Linked DNA regions of Homo sapiens: regions 2 and 3 are each linked to region 1. The links are contacts of gene promoters, found by promoter capture Hi-C in human tissues and cell types (Jung and others, 2019). All regions are on one chromosome and are shown on one strand. Each heading gives the region's core, a stretch centred on a gene start or on the middle of the fragment in contact. The rest is flanking DNA. Distances are from core to core; before and after follow the strand shown. Region 1 holds the start of IL18BP (interleukin 18 binding protein). Region 2 overlaps RNF121 (ring finger protein 121). Region 3 overlaps RNF121 (ring finger protein 121).

Region 1 (4,450 bases), core at 1,683-4,182:
GCTGTGGCTGGAGGGCAGGGCTTCTTGGGTGGGGGGCAAGGTTGCCCTCAGCCCAGCCTAGGGAAGTGAAGGCAGACAAGGATCAGGCCAAGGAAAGGAGGGACATCTCATCACTTTGCCCCAGGCTACACCTCCTCTGCCCAAGACCTAAGTTCCTTTTTGTCTGGCTGACCTTGAGGAATGCTGGGCATTAGTTCACAGGCTGCTCTGGCAGAGCCCACCCTTTCCTCCCCACATATGGAAGCAGAGCTCCTCCTGTTCCTGGAGGCCTCTCCTTGGGCTCCTCACCCAGAGCTGGGCCAGGACGACGTGACGCTGGACAACCTGTTCAGGGTCCACGAGCACACAGGAGAAGTTGGTGCTGTGCAGGGCAGGGGTCAGCTGCTCCAGCACCAAGGCCTTGCACAGCTGCGTACCTGTGCTCCCACGTTCCCGGCTGGAGCGGAAGGGAAGGAAAGGTCATGAGAAGGCCGCAGAAGGCCTCCTTCCCACCCACCTGGCTGCTGCGACCCTCACCTGGTGCTCCCCTCCCACAGTCGGCCTGGGAGGTGCTCAATGAAGGAACCATTGCCCAGCCAGTAGAGGATGCTGAAGTTGGGGAAGCGGCTGCAGGCCACACAGGATAAGCTCAGCGTTCCATCTAGGGACACAGGCAGCAGTTAGCTCTTCAGAAGAGCAGGCCCTTCCCCTACCCTGCTCTGCTGTGCCCTCCCTGCCAGCTCCCCCCAGTCCCCATGCATCTGGAACCTAGAGAACTGCTCTGCACACCACCTAGGTGGGAACGTCCGTTACAGAAGTGCAGTTGTCTCCGAGAGGCCCTAGCCCTAAACACGGGGAATGTGAGGAATGGTCCTTGGTTCACGTGATGAATCCTCTTCTGAACCTGTCTCCTCAGGATGACCTTTTCTAGTGCCCAGCCTCGGTGACTTGGGAGCCCAGGTGACAAAGGCAGTGCTGGATGGCTGCTGCTCCTCTGAGATGGCCAGAGGCCAGCAGGCTCTGGGTGGAGGGGCTGGCCTTGGGGTCCACTGCAACCAAGGCTCTGGGAGGTCCTGTGACCATTACTTATGTCTTGAGTTCTCTGTCCTATTTGATAGGGAGCATCTTGGGAGCTGCGCCAAGCCTGCACCCATGACACTGGGTTGGGGAGGGAGAATGGTGCGTGCTCAGCCCAGCTGGCTCAGCTGGTGGTACATGGGCAGAAGGGGACTGGCGCTCAGGAGTCAACCCGACCCTGGGAACCTCTGTGCCCATAGCCCACCCTCCACCACTGTGCTTCTTACTCAGTGGCACTTCCACCTCTGGCCAGGTCACTTCCAATGCTGGACACTGCTTAGCTGCTGGGAACACTGGGGGCTGGGAGGGGCAGGGGTCCTTTGTGCTTCTAACTGAGGCAGTGGCAGCTGTGGTGGTCTGCGAGACAGGTGTGGCTCTGACCAGGAGAGTGACGACGTGGGCACACAGGAGCAGGACCCACAAAGGGCTGAGGTCTGAGGAAAGGACAGTTACAGGTCAGCGGCTCTGGAGACAGAGTGGGCTGCCCGGGTAAGGATGTAACTCCAGCCCAGAGATGTCTGGGTTCTAGCCAGGGAATCAGAGCGGGAAGAGGGACCCCTCAGCACCCACCCCTTAGCCCTTTATTGAACAGAGTACAGAGAAGCTTTAGACTGGAGCCAGAGCTACAATATCTGCCCAGGTTCTTAAAGCAACAGCACCAGGTGCGCTGGGTGGTTTGCCTTGGAGTGAAGGCTCCGGGTTAGCCCATTGCTCCATTCTGTTCATAGACCTCACCCTACCCCGCCTGCCCATGCGTAGCCCCAAGGCCTACCTGGTGTCCAGTTGTGTCTCATGGTCATGATGCATGCGTCAGGAGCTGGTGAGCCTGGCTCTTTATCTGTGACAACGTCCTCTTCTCTGGTGAAAGGTGGGGGAGGAGAATGGTAAACCACTCCCGCTTTTTCTCAGTAGCTGGCTTTTCCTCAGTAGCTGGCTTCTCCTCCCGTAGCATAGCCTGGAGCTCTTTCAGCACTTAGAAACAGAGCTGGGGGGGTCAAGTGACAATCCTTCCCCACCCCAGCTCTCATGACCACAAATGGTTGTAAGATGCTTACCTAGTCCAATCTTACCCCTTCATTAGGGAAGGCAAAATTGAGACCCAAAGAGAGAATATGGACTCACCCAGTCACACAGGGAGGCAGTGCTCTCTTCAGCACCAGAGCTGCTTCTGGGAAGGGCAGGATGCCGAGCAATCCTTCTGGGAAAGCACTGCCCCGACCCTCTATTTCACTTTCACTTTTTAACCAGGGAATCTTGAGCAGCTGTGACACCTCTGCTTTAGCCAAAGTTCAGTGGCCAGAAACCTTCAGCTCCTGGGACTCCTACTCTCCAGAGGATACCAGACTGGGATCTCTAATCTACCCCCATGCCACCCCCAGGGTCACCTAGGGTATGAACTAGATGAGTCTCTCACAGATCAATTCTGTCCCGCCCAAGTGTCAGGACTTTGGTGTCCGCCTCCCCTCTTCACAGCCAGGTCTTTGTTTCCATATGAACAGGCATCTGCTTCCTCCTTCACCTTCACACTGACATTCAAGGGGACAACTTTCCTAGGCACTGGGGAACCCCAAGTTGGACCACTTCAGGCTCAATGCCATACCAGTCCGTCCACATCCTGGCCTTTCCCAGGCTACCCACTCCCCCAGCCACCAGCCCCAAGGTCGGCTACATCTCCCAGCACCCACCATCACACCCTCTGTCTCTCATCCTAGCCCCTCTGGCCAGAGCCACAGGTCTAGGTTCACTAGTAGTCCCAGACTCCTACCTGGCTCCTAAGAGGTCCTGAAGAGCCTTCCTTTCCAGAAGCTTCCCTCTAGGAGCTCCAAGACTCAAGTTAGCTGTGTCTAGCTGCGTGTGAACCCACCACAGGAAATACACCGAGAGCACTTCCTCCTTGTCTGTAGAACTCTCACGGCCAACCCAGGAACTGGCACACAAGCTCGAGAGCCAACCCTAACAGGAGGGAAGGGCAGGCACTTCCCGGGGAAGAGGCGGACTGGCTCAACACTGGCTCTGGCAACAGAGTCTACATCAGAATATGAATCTTGTCACTGATGGGACAAATGGCGCTGGGGCTGCGGGAGGGCCAGGATTCAGGGTGAGGCGTGTGAGGAACCTAGGATGCTAAATCTAAGGAGGTTTTCTCTCAGGGTCATGCAGTTATCCATGGAGGCAGAAAGACCAGGGCTGGGTGATCCAATGCATGCATATATTAAGTGTGGACAGGAGCTGCATGTCTGAGGTTTGTGACTCCTGTGATTGGGAGGGTGCAACGGCTGGTGACAGAGCCAGGGAGGCCCACAGATGGAACTGGGTTTGGTGGATGCATCAGGAACACAGTCAGCTGTGATCTCAAACTTCTTGTAGAAAAACCAGATTCATATTCCTAATTTAGACATAGGATACTACAAGTCACATCCTTCTTCTCTAGGTGTCTAGTTCATGTTTTTCCTCCTCTCAATTCCTCCCCCTACCTCCTGCCCCAGGGGCTTCTAGCATGTAAGATGCAGGAGAAATTCCTCCCAAGAACACCAGCATCTCCAGGAGTTAGGTCAGGAGGCAAGGCTGCCTGGGGTTTCTGAGAGAGACAGTCCAGTGGGGGATGGTAGGGAAAGATGACAGGACTCTGTCTTAGTGGAACCGAGACCAGAGTCAGGCCAAGGGGGGAGGTCAAGGGACTCAGAACTGTTACACATGAAAAGAGCTTTGGACAGCCTGGCCTCGGCTTCTCACCTGAGCCTGACAGGGGGGTGGGGGGAAAAAGTAAAAGGAAGGGTGATCCCTAGGTCCTCTGACCAGCCCCATTCCCCTCTCTGAGGAGGGGAACAGCCCCACAGGTGGCATAAGCAGCAGGGTACCATGGGAAGCCACAGCTGGGGAAGAGAAGCCGAGCCTGAGTGTGGTCCTCAGGAAGGCAGGTGGTGGCGGGACACTGTCCTCAGGCAGTGAGAACATAGAGCAACCTCAGTCTGAAGGCAGGCCCAATGATGCCCCAGGCCCCCAGGCCACAGGACAGGAGCCTGGCATTCCACCACTCCTAGGGATGTCAGCAGGGGAACAGCTGGGAACAGCAGAAAGGCAGGCCCAACCACCCCCAGACCCTCAGGTCTCCGATGGGGGTTAACAAAGGCAAGACACCCCTGGGGACCCCAGGGAAAGAGGTGGGAAGAAGAAAGCAAGATAAATGTTCAGCTTTCCAACCCAGCTCATGGAGCTTTATTCAGACGGGAGTGACAACATCCTGCTTCGTTCTTGCTGCCCTTGAAGGGGCAGGCCCTACTGAGCCATATTCCCTAGAAACCCAATGCCGAAGGCCCATGTTTGACCTCCCACTTTATTCAAGTCGCCTAGGACTAGGGCTGGGGCCTTCCTAGAAGCCCCCTCTCAGAACCTG
Region 2 (4,450 bases), core at 1,150-3,649, 55 kb after region 1:
TTTGCCCATTTTTTACTAGGTTATTTTTTTTATTATTGATGAGTTGTAAAAGCTCTTTATATCTTCTATAGACAAATACCTTATTAATATATGATTTGCAAACAGTTTTTCCCATTTAGCCATCCTAGTGGATCTGAAATGGTTAAAGGATCATTTGAGTCGTATTCTTCTTTGTATTTCAGAGAACTAGCTCATAATCTGGTATACTGTATGTGTTCAATAAATGACAGACAGATGTTAAATAATATTAACTGCTTTGGAAACAAGGATAAATGACTTACTTGTTCAGCATCCCCTTCACACTTCACACTTAGAACTAGACACAAAGCAAATGCTTGGGAAATACTCAGACACTGAGTAATTCTCTCTTAATTCTCTCTTGAACAAACAGTGGGGATGATATTGCAGAAGAATCCAGAGGAACTGGGAAAGCCATCTGATACAGCCAACGGCTACTAAGTTTAAAAGTGACTCCTTTTGGCACAGTGGCCATGTGAAAAAAATTAAAAATCTTAAAAATAAATAAATAAAAGTGAATCTTGGCCAGACATGTTGGCTCATGCCTGTAATCTCAACACTTTGGGAGCCCGAGGCAGGAGGATCACTTGAGGCCAGGAGTTGGGAGACCCAGCTGGGTAACATAGCAAGACTCCATCTCTACAAAAAATTTAAAAATTAGCCAAGTGTGGTGGCACACACCTGTAGTCCCAGCTACTCAGGAGGCTGAGGCAGGAGGATCACTTGAGCCCAGGAGGTTCAGACTGCAGTGAGCCATGATCACACCACTGCACTCCAGCCTGGGTGACAGAAGACCCTGTCTCAAAAAAAAAAACAACAAAAAAGTGACTCTTCCTTGTAAGAGAAATACTAACATAATCCTACTTGATCTTTAATAGCCAGCAGTAAATACTTTCCAAACTTAACACAGCATACAGCTAGGACTGAAGGAAGATTTAGGGAGAAGGGAAAACCAAAGTTCATGGCTGGTAGTACCAGAAGGCCTAGATCAGTGGGGTAAGAAATATATCTACTATCTTTTCCTTCCTTCCTATTACTCAGTCTACAAACTTAATCCAGGTCCTTCAACCTCATGTACTTCTCGAGTCACTGTGTCACCCAAGTTCAAATCTTCTGGTGTCCTAATGCTGCCTGTGAAAGTAAGAACTCCTTAGTAGACTACACAATGCCCTCCACAGGAGCACGGACAGTGAGCTCTTGGGACCACACAAGGCCATGACCTGACCCCTAGCTGTCTTTCCAGTTTTACCTTCCTCTGCTCCCAGCTCCTTTGGGACTTAACATATGCTCTCCTGCAGTATATATAATACACCAGAAATTATGTGCATTTTAGAATTAGATAAATTTGGAAGCCCTACTTGCCTGGATTAAGGCAAATTTTTCCTGCCCCTTAGTCCCTCCTCCATTTCTGCCCCAAGAATGATCTTTCTATAATGCACATCTGATCCATGTCATTCACCTAAGTTCCTCTTTTTTTTTGAGACAGAGTCTCGCTCTGTTGCCCAGGCAGGAGTGCAGTGGCACAATCTCGGCTCACTGCAACCTCCACCTCCTAGCTTTAAGTGATTCTCCTGCCTCAGTCTCCCGAGTGGCTGGGATTACAGGTGCATGCCACCACGCCTGGCTAATTTTTTGTATTTTTAGTAGAGACGGGGTTTCATCATGTTGCCCAAGCTGGTCTCGAACTCCTGACCTCAAGTGATCCTCCCACCTCAGCCTCCCAAAGTGCTGGGATTACAGACATGAGTTACCGTGCCCAGCCAACCTAAGTTCTTAAAGCTCTTCTACAGCTAATCATCAGCTACAGATAAAAATCCAAACTCCTCAGCACAGCATATAAGGCCTTATGTGTCATCACATCTGCCTCCCTTTCCAGTCTCCCTATTTTATCATTACTCCCCACCTTCTACTCTGAGGTTCCAGTAATACTAAACTGCATACAGTTCCCTGAAGGTGGCATTCTCTTTCTCACCTCCCACCTTGCACATGCTGCTCCTCCTGCCTAGAGGGCTCTTCTATTCTTTCTTTAGCTGGTTAATTTCTAGTCACTTTCACACTCAGCTATGGTATCACTTCTAGGGAGTCTTTTCTGATCCCTTGCCTGCCATTTTTGGTGCTCCCTGAAATCTCTGCTTCTTCATATTATAGCAATTATTACATCTGTTTACTAACTTTTCCACTACACCATGAGCAACCTGAGAGCAAGGCCTATGTCTTTGTTATCTTTCACATCTAATGCAGTACCTTGGTAAATTCACAGTATGTGACCAATCAATAAACAAGTGAACAGGATTCTCCCAACATACACGAGGCTGGCGTAACAAATGCCTTTATTATTTTAAAGCTGACAGCATTACCTTATTGACTTGTCACAGATAACAGCTGCATGGCAGAGCTAGGATAAAAAGCCAGATCTTCAGAGTCCCAGAACAACGTCCAAACCTCTCCCTGAGCTATAAGCTCGTATTTCCAACTGCCTAATTAACATGGCACCTAATGGTACCATGGTGATGCCATTTACTCAAGTCAAAGCAAAAAATTCAAAAAAATATAAAAGCAAGCTTGATTATTTTCTTTCCCTTACATCACATATCCAATCCACCAGCAAGTCCTGTAGGCTCTATTTCAAAACATATTCTAAATTTATCCACTTTTCTCCATCGTCTCTGCTATCCCTGCTATGGTCTGAATGTTTGTGTTCCCCAAAATTAGTACGTTGAAACCTAACCTCCAATGCAATAGTATTAAGAAGAGGTGGAGGGAACCTTTAGGAGGTGATTAGGTTGTGAAGGTGGAGACCTCATGAATGGGATTAGTGCCCTTACAAAAGTGGCTTTAGGGAGGCTGTGTGTCCCTTCTGCCATGTGAAGACACAGCAACAAGGAGCCCCCTTTGAAGCACAGAGCCTTTGCCAGACATCATATCTGCTAGAACTTTGCCTTTAGACTTCCCAGCCTCCAGAACTGTGAGAAATATATACATATATATGTGTGTGTGTGTGTGTGTGTACATATATATATCTATATATATATATATATACAGATATATAGATTTTTTTTTTGGAGACAGAGTCTCGCTGGAGTGCAGTGGCACGATCTTGGCTCACTGCAACCTCCGCCTCCCAGGTTCAAGCGATTCTCCTGCCTCAGCCTCCAGAGTAGCCGGGATTACTGGCACCTGCCACCATGCCCAGCTAATTTTTTATATTTTTAGTAGAAACGGGGTTTCACCATGTTGGCCTGGCTAGTCTCAAACTCCTAGTCTCAAGTAATCCGCCCGCCTCAGCCTCCCAAAGTCCTGGGATTACAGGCGTGAGCCACTGTGCCCGGCTAAATTTCTGTTGTTTATAAATTACCCAGTCTAAGGTATTTTACTATAGCAGCCCAAAAGGACTAAAACACCCCCCACCGAATCCAAAACACTATCATCTCCCATATGGACTATTACCATAACTTCCTAACCCTCTCACTGAGTCACCTCCTACAATCCATTCTTCTCAAAGCAGCCAGAAAGATCTTTTAAAAAATGAAAATCAGCTCACATCACTCCCATTTTGAAACCCAATCAAAATCTTTTCATTGCCGGGCACGGTGGTTCATGCCTGTAATCCCAGCACTTTGGGAGGTCGAGGCAGATGGATTATTAGGTCAGGAGATTGAGACCATCCTGGCTAACATGGTGAAACCCCGTCTCTAATAAAAAATACAAAAAAATAGCTGGGCGTGGTGGCAGGCACCTGTAGTCCCAGCTACTCGGGAGGCTGAGGCAGGAGAATGGCACGAACCCAGGAGGCGGAGCTTGCAGCGAGCCAAGATCGCGCTACTGCACTCCAGCCTGGGCAACAGAGCAAGACTCCGTCTCAAAAAAAAAAAAAAAAAAAATTCTCATTACACGCTCAATAAAATTCAACATGTATCACAGCAGCTACAAGGCCTTATAAATCTGACCTTGCCAGACTCCCTGACCTCATACAGAACCATTTTTCCTTTGCTAATTATGATCTGTCACACTGGCTTTCTTTTTGGTCCCAGGACATGCCTTGTTCATTCCCATTAATTTGTACTTGCTTCTCCCTCCACTTGGAACATATCTGCTTCCAAATCTCGAAATTGCTAGGTCTTCACCATTCAGGACTTGGTTCAAGTAGCATTTCCTCAGAGGCTTTCCATAATCACCCTATTTAAAGTAGCCTTTCTCTTCTAGTCATCTTTATCACATTACATTACTTTTCTCAAAGCATTTGTCACCATCTGGAGTTATCCTGTTTATTTGTTATCTACTTTACCACATTAGAAACTAAACCTAATATGAGCAAGGACCTCAGTTGTCTTGTTCACTGCTGAATTACTGGGACCTAGAAAAATGTTTGACACTGAAGTCACAAGTATTTGAAGAAGGAAATAATGAATAATTAATACAGACCACAAACTTA
Region 3 (4,450 bases), core at 1,163-3,662, 39 kb after region 1:
TGTTTCCCAGATTGAGTTTTTCCTTAAGATAATGTTTAAAGAAAGGATTCCACACTTAAGGAAAAAGTTCTTATTGAAAATTACTGCAGTGCATATATGCATACTCACTTTCTTCAGAATAGGTTGTAAAAATCTGCCGGGCGCGGTGGCTCACGCCTGTAATCCCAGCACTTTGGGAGGCCGAGGCGGATCACAAGGTCAGGAGATCGAGACCATCCTGGCTAACACAGTGAAACCCCGTCTCTACTAAAAATACAAAAAAATTAGTCAGGCGTGATGGTGGGCACCTGTAGTCCCAGCTATGCGGGAAGCCGAGGCAGGAGAATGGCGTGAACCCGGGAGGCGGAGCTTGCAGTGAGCAGAGATTGCACCACTGCACTCCCGCCTGGGCGACACAGCGAGACTCTGTCTCAAAAAAAAAAAAAAAAAAATCTTTGCAGATTAGCCAAAATTATATAATTAAAAATATTTCTACATATAAGCACAGAAATGCCAAGGGGGCTTTCACTCATTTATGAGTTTACTGAATCCCCTGGCTCAAGCAATTCTCCCACCTCAGCCTCCTCAATAGGTGGGATTACAAGTGTGTGCCACCACTCCTGGCTTGTGTCTTTCCACCTAAAGTGAATTTACTATAGACAGCATATCGATAAATGAGGGGATTTTTAAAACCAATCTGCCAATTTCTGTCTTCTAATGGAAGAATTTAATCCATTTATATTTAAAGTGATTACTGGTAAGGAAGAATTAACTTCTGCCATTTTGCTATTTGTTTTCTGTGTGTCATTTTCCCCACCTAATTTCAACCATTACTGTTTTTTCTTTTTCTTTTTTTTGAGACAGAGTCTTGCTCTGTCTCCAGGCTGGAGTGCAATGGCACGATCACGACTCACTGCAGCCTTGACCTCCCAGGCTCAAGGAATCTTCCCACCTCTCAGCCTCCCCAGTAGCTGAGACTATAGGCGCATGCCACCACGCCTGGCTAATTTCTCTATTTTTTGTAGATATAGGGTTTTGCCATGTTGCCCAGGCTAGTCTTGAACTCCTGAGCTGAAGCCATCTGCCCACCTCAATCTCCCAAAGTACTAGGATTACAAACATGAGCCACCACACCCGATCCTTCTTTAAAAAAATTTAGATTAGTGTAATCTAGATCCTGTAAGATTCATGAGATGCTTAGTTTTCCCAGTCAATTCATCTTTGCTCTCTCCAATTGAATAGTTCCTGATGATTATCTCCTTCATGAACCTGTCCCACAATGTTTCGAAGGGAAAACCTATCTTTTCTGCCTATGAACATAGTCTTATGTTCTATCCTTTTCACCCTCTGAATCACCTGACCCTTAGACACACACTCGCCAATACACTATTCATCATTCATACATAAAGTTCATTGTTATTGTCTTTCTCCACCTCCATGTGGCCTGGGTTAGGCTGGGACCTAGAATACTTAGGAAGGGTCTCTTGATGACTGACAGACAAAGAAGTAAGAGGCAAAGTGGCTTACATTGTAGGAGCGTGGGTGCCTCTGCTTCCACTGCACCAGGAGCAGCTGGGCCACCACCAAGGTTGCGATGAGGATGAGGACCATTTCAGCATGCATAGCTTCATGGCCACGGTGCTTGGCATGCATGCGTGCGTGCTCGACCCTGAAAGCCAAACACATGGGGTGAATCAAGTCAGGGATGCTGTAGTGATAAAGGGACAGTGCTTTCCAGGGATATCCCACCAGTACATAGCTCAGAACACATTCCCTGCTTCATAGCTGCAGGGTACCACACAAATTAGGGGCTAGGACACACACCCTAACAGACAGGCATGTCGAGATAGAATACAGGCTCTACGGACCCCCCAGCAACCAAGCCTAGATATTGGAATTAGAGCTAAGTGGCCTGCTGCCTGCCCCCATGGAAGAAACAGCTGACACCTTTCCTGTAGCATGAAGGAGGTCCCAGGAGAAACCTGCATCATTGCCCATTTCAAGTCTATTTCAACCTGATGCTGGAACGAGAAAGTAACCCAAAGAGGTTATAGACATAAAGTCTCATACGCTTAGTCACCAATATTTATGACAGCAGTAAAGGAGTAACGCTGCAAATGTGTGCTGATTCCAGGATTAAAGTCTTGCTTTATTCATTCCACCCTCTCTGCCAGAGTCAGAAATCCTTAAGACTAGTTAAAGCCTAAAAAGTCTGGACTGCTTCAACTTTATACTAATCCAACAGTGACTTTACCCTCAGTATCCACAGGTAAACAGCCTCCTCAAAGGCTCAAGGAAGTTTAGTAACTAGAGAGTACAGCTGGAAACTTTTTATTAATCTAAGGCTGGCATTCGCTGGTCTTAAAGACTGGCAGCAAGTGATTCCCTTGGCTAATACTGGCTAAAAACTTGTTCTAAGAACAGTCACTCCTACCACTCTGGGTCACAGTCATCCAAAGGAGAGGAATGAGAAAGGAATTAGAGGCCGGGCGCGGTGGCTCACACCTGTAATCCCAGCACTTTGAGAGGCTGAGGCCGGAGGATCACGTGAGGTCAGGAGTTAACGATGAGCCTGGCCAACATGGCGAAACCCCGTCTCTACTAAAAATACAAAAATTAGCCGGGTGTGGTGGTGCATGCCTGTGATCCCAGCTACTCAGGAGGCTGAGGCAGGAGAATCACTTGAACCTGGGAGGTGGAGGTTGCAGTCAGCCAAGATCGCAACACTGCACTCCGTCCTGGGCGACAGAATGAGATTCCATCTCAAAAAAAAAAAAAAAAGAAGAAGAGAGAGAGAAGAGAAGGAATTAGAGAGAAAATCAAATACATCAGAATGTGTGGGAAAGGGCAAATTTAAATAAATAATAAAATCAAATACAAATGTAACTTGAGTCATAAGCTTTTATACAATTCCCATTACACCAGGGTATTTAGGAGGGAGGAAAAGGACAACATAAATAGTGTCTTCATGGAATTTCCATGGGCAATTAAACATTAACAGCAAAAATAACCCAGAAGGATGAATTATAAACAATAAAGCAAATATAACAAAAAGTGTAGAACCCAGGTGGTAAGTATAAAGGTGTTCACTGTACAATTCTTTCAACTTTTCTATGTGTTTAAAGTTTTTCATAACAAAATGTAAGGGGGGAAAACTTGGTGGGCAGAGTGGGAAGCCAAATGCCAGTCAGTAAGCCTCAGCACCTAAGGGTTCATCTGACATAAAACTTTACCCTGGGTGGGAGAATCTGACAGAAAGAGAATAGGATTGGGAGTTCGAAACTTAGATTCAGACCCACCTATATGGCCATGGCCAATTAACCTCACATCTGTATATCACAATTTCTTCATCTGTCAAAAGGAGTCCATATTTTTTCTGCCTGACTCAAGAGTTGTTGTGAGAATAGGCTAAGAGGGTAGAGCACACTTAAAAACACCTAAGGGCTATGAGGAGTTATAAAGATAGCAAGAGATAAGTTTCTTGTTCTCAGACAACATATCAGTGAACGGATGTGCACAAAATGAAGTCAAAGAATGATCTAGAAAAGACCAGAGAAGTCATCCAGTTCAAGTTCCCACCCAATGCAAAAATCATTTTTGCAATCTTTGCTTGAATACTTCCACTGGCTGAGAACACATGCCTTTTAAGGTAATCTATTTTAGAACCAGCAGTGTCTGGCACATTGTAGGTACATATACATATATTATTTTTTTGGAGAGAGTCTCGCTCTGTCATCCAGGCTAGATGAACTGCAGCCTCGAACTGCTGGGCTCAAGGGATCCTCCTACCTTGGCCTCCCAAAGTGCTGGGATTACAGGTGGGAGCTACCACACCTGGGCAGGTACTAATATTTGCTTATAAATGAATAAAATCCCAATGTTTTAGGGACAGAAAGCTCATTACCTCTCAATATACCTTGACTATTAAAGACAGTTCTGACAATGAGACAAAAAAAAAATCTATCTTCTTATAGCTTCAGTCCATTAGACCTAATCCGATACTCCATAACAACAAAGGACATATTGACTCTTCTTTCCCAATGCCACCCCTTCAAAGATTTATCATGATGTTATTCAAACAAAACAAAACCATCCTGTTCCTACCACTATTTTCCTGTGCCCTTTGAGGCTAACAGTTCTAGATCTTTTAACCACTGTTCATATAACATGATATGAAGACTATTAATCCAGGTTGCCTTCTTCTACACATGATCCAGTTAAAGATCTTTTTAATATGCCATGCTTAGAACAAAATATTTGTGACCTCAGCAGAGCAGACCACAGTGGCACTATCACCTCTCTTACAGCAGACAGCATATTTCTACGAACATCTTTTAAATTATTCAGAATATTTTGGTAGCTGAGGTACACAACTGGTTCATACTAAGCTTAAAATCACCTAAAATCACACTGGGTTTGTCATGTGAACAGGTATTTTTGCCATTCTATGTTTTTATAGTCAATAGTTTTA

What was found. Contacts are between HindIII fragments. The study calls those that stand out against the background at their distance.
Region 2: a fragment that was not itself captured here is called in contact with the fragment with the promoter of IL18BP in region 1 in 1 of the 25 tissues and cell types used here (mesendoderm cells).
Region 3: a fragment that was not itself captured here is called in contact with the fragment with the promoter of IL18BP in region 1 in 2 of the 25 tissues and cell types used here (bladder and lymphoblastoid cells).

What each region holds. Positions count from the first base shown.
Region 1 is chr11:71,997,391-72,001,840 of GRCh38, reverse strand. It overlaps IL18BP (interleukin 18 binding protein), which reads right to left and starts at 2,932. Exons shown (of 6, transcript NM_001039660.2): 1 at 2,822-2,932; 2 at 1,829-1,914; 3 at 1,284-1,490; 4 at 517-640; 5 at 289-436; 6 at 1-57. The coding sequence starts at 1,856. RNF121 (ring finger protein 121) reads right to left here. Exons shown (of 9, transcript NM_018320.5): 9 at 4,244-4,450. The HindIII fragment of the contact is 6,503 bases long and covers 2,262-4,450 here.
Region 2 is chr11:71,941,380-71,945,829 of GRCh38, reverse strand. The region is part of intron 1 of RNF121 (ring finger protein 121); the gene reads right to left. Among named protein-coding and RNA genes, the nearest start is that of RNF121, 15 kb to the right of the region's middle. The HindIII fragment of the contact is 4,929 bases long and covers 1-4,450 here.
Region 3 is chr11:71,957,948-71,962,397 of GRCh38, reverse strand. It overlaps RNF121 (ring finger protein 121), which reads right to left. Exons shown (of 9, transcript NM_018320.5): 3 at 1,507-1,648. Among named protein-coding and RNA genes, the nearest start is that of RNF121, 31 kb to the right of the region's middle. The HindIII fragment of the contact is 5,197 bases long and covers 1-4,450 here.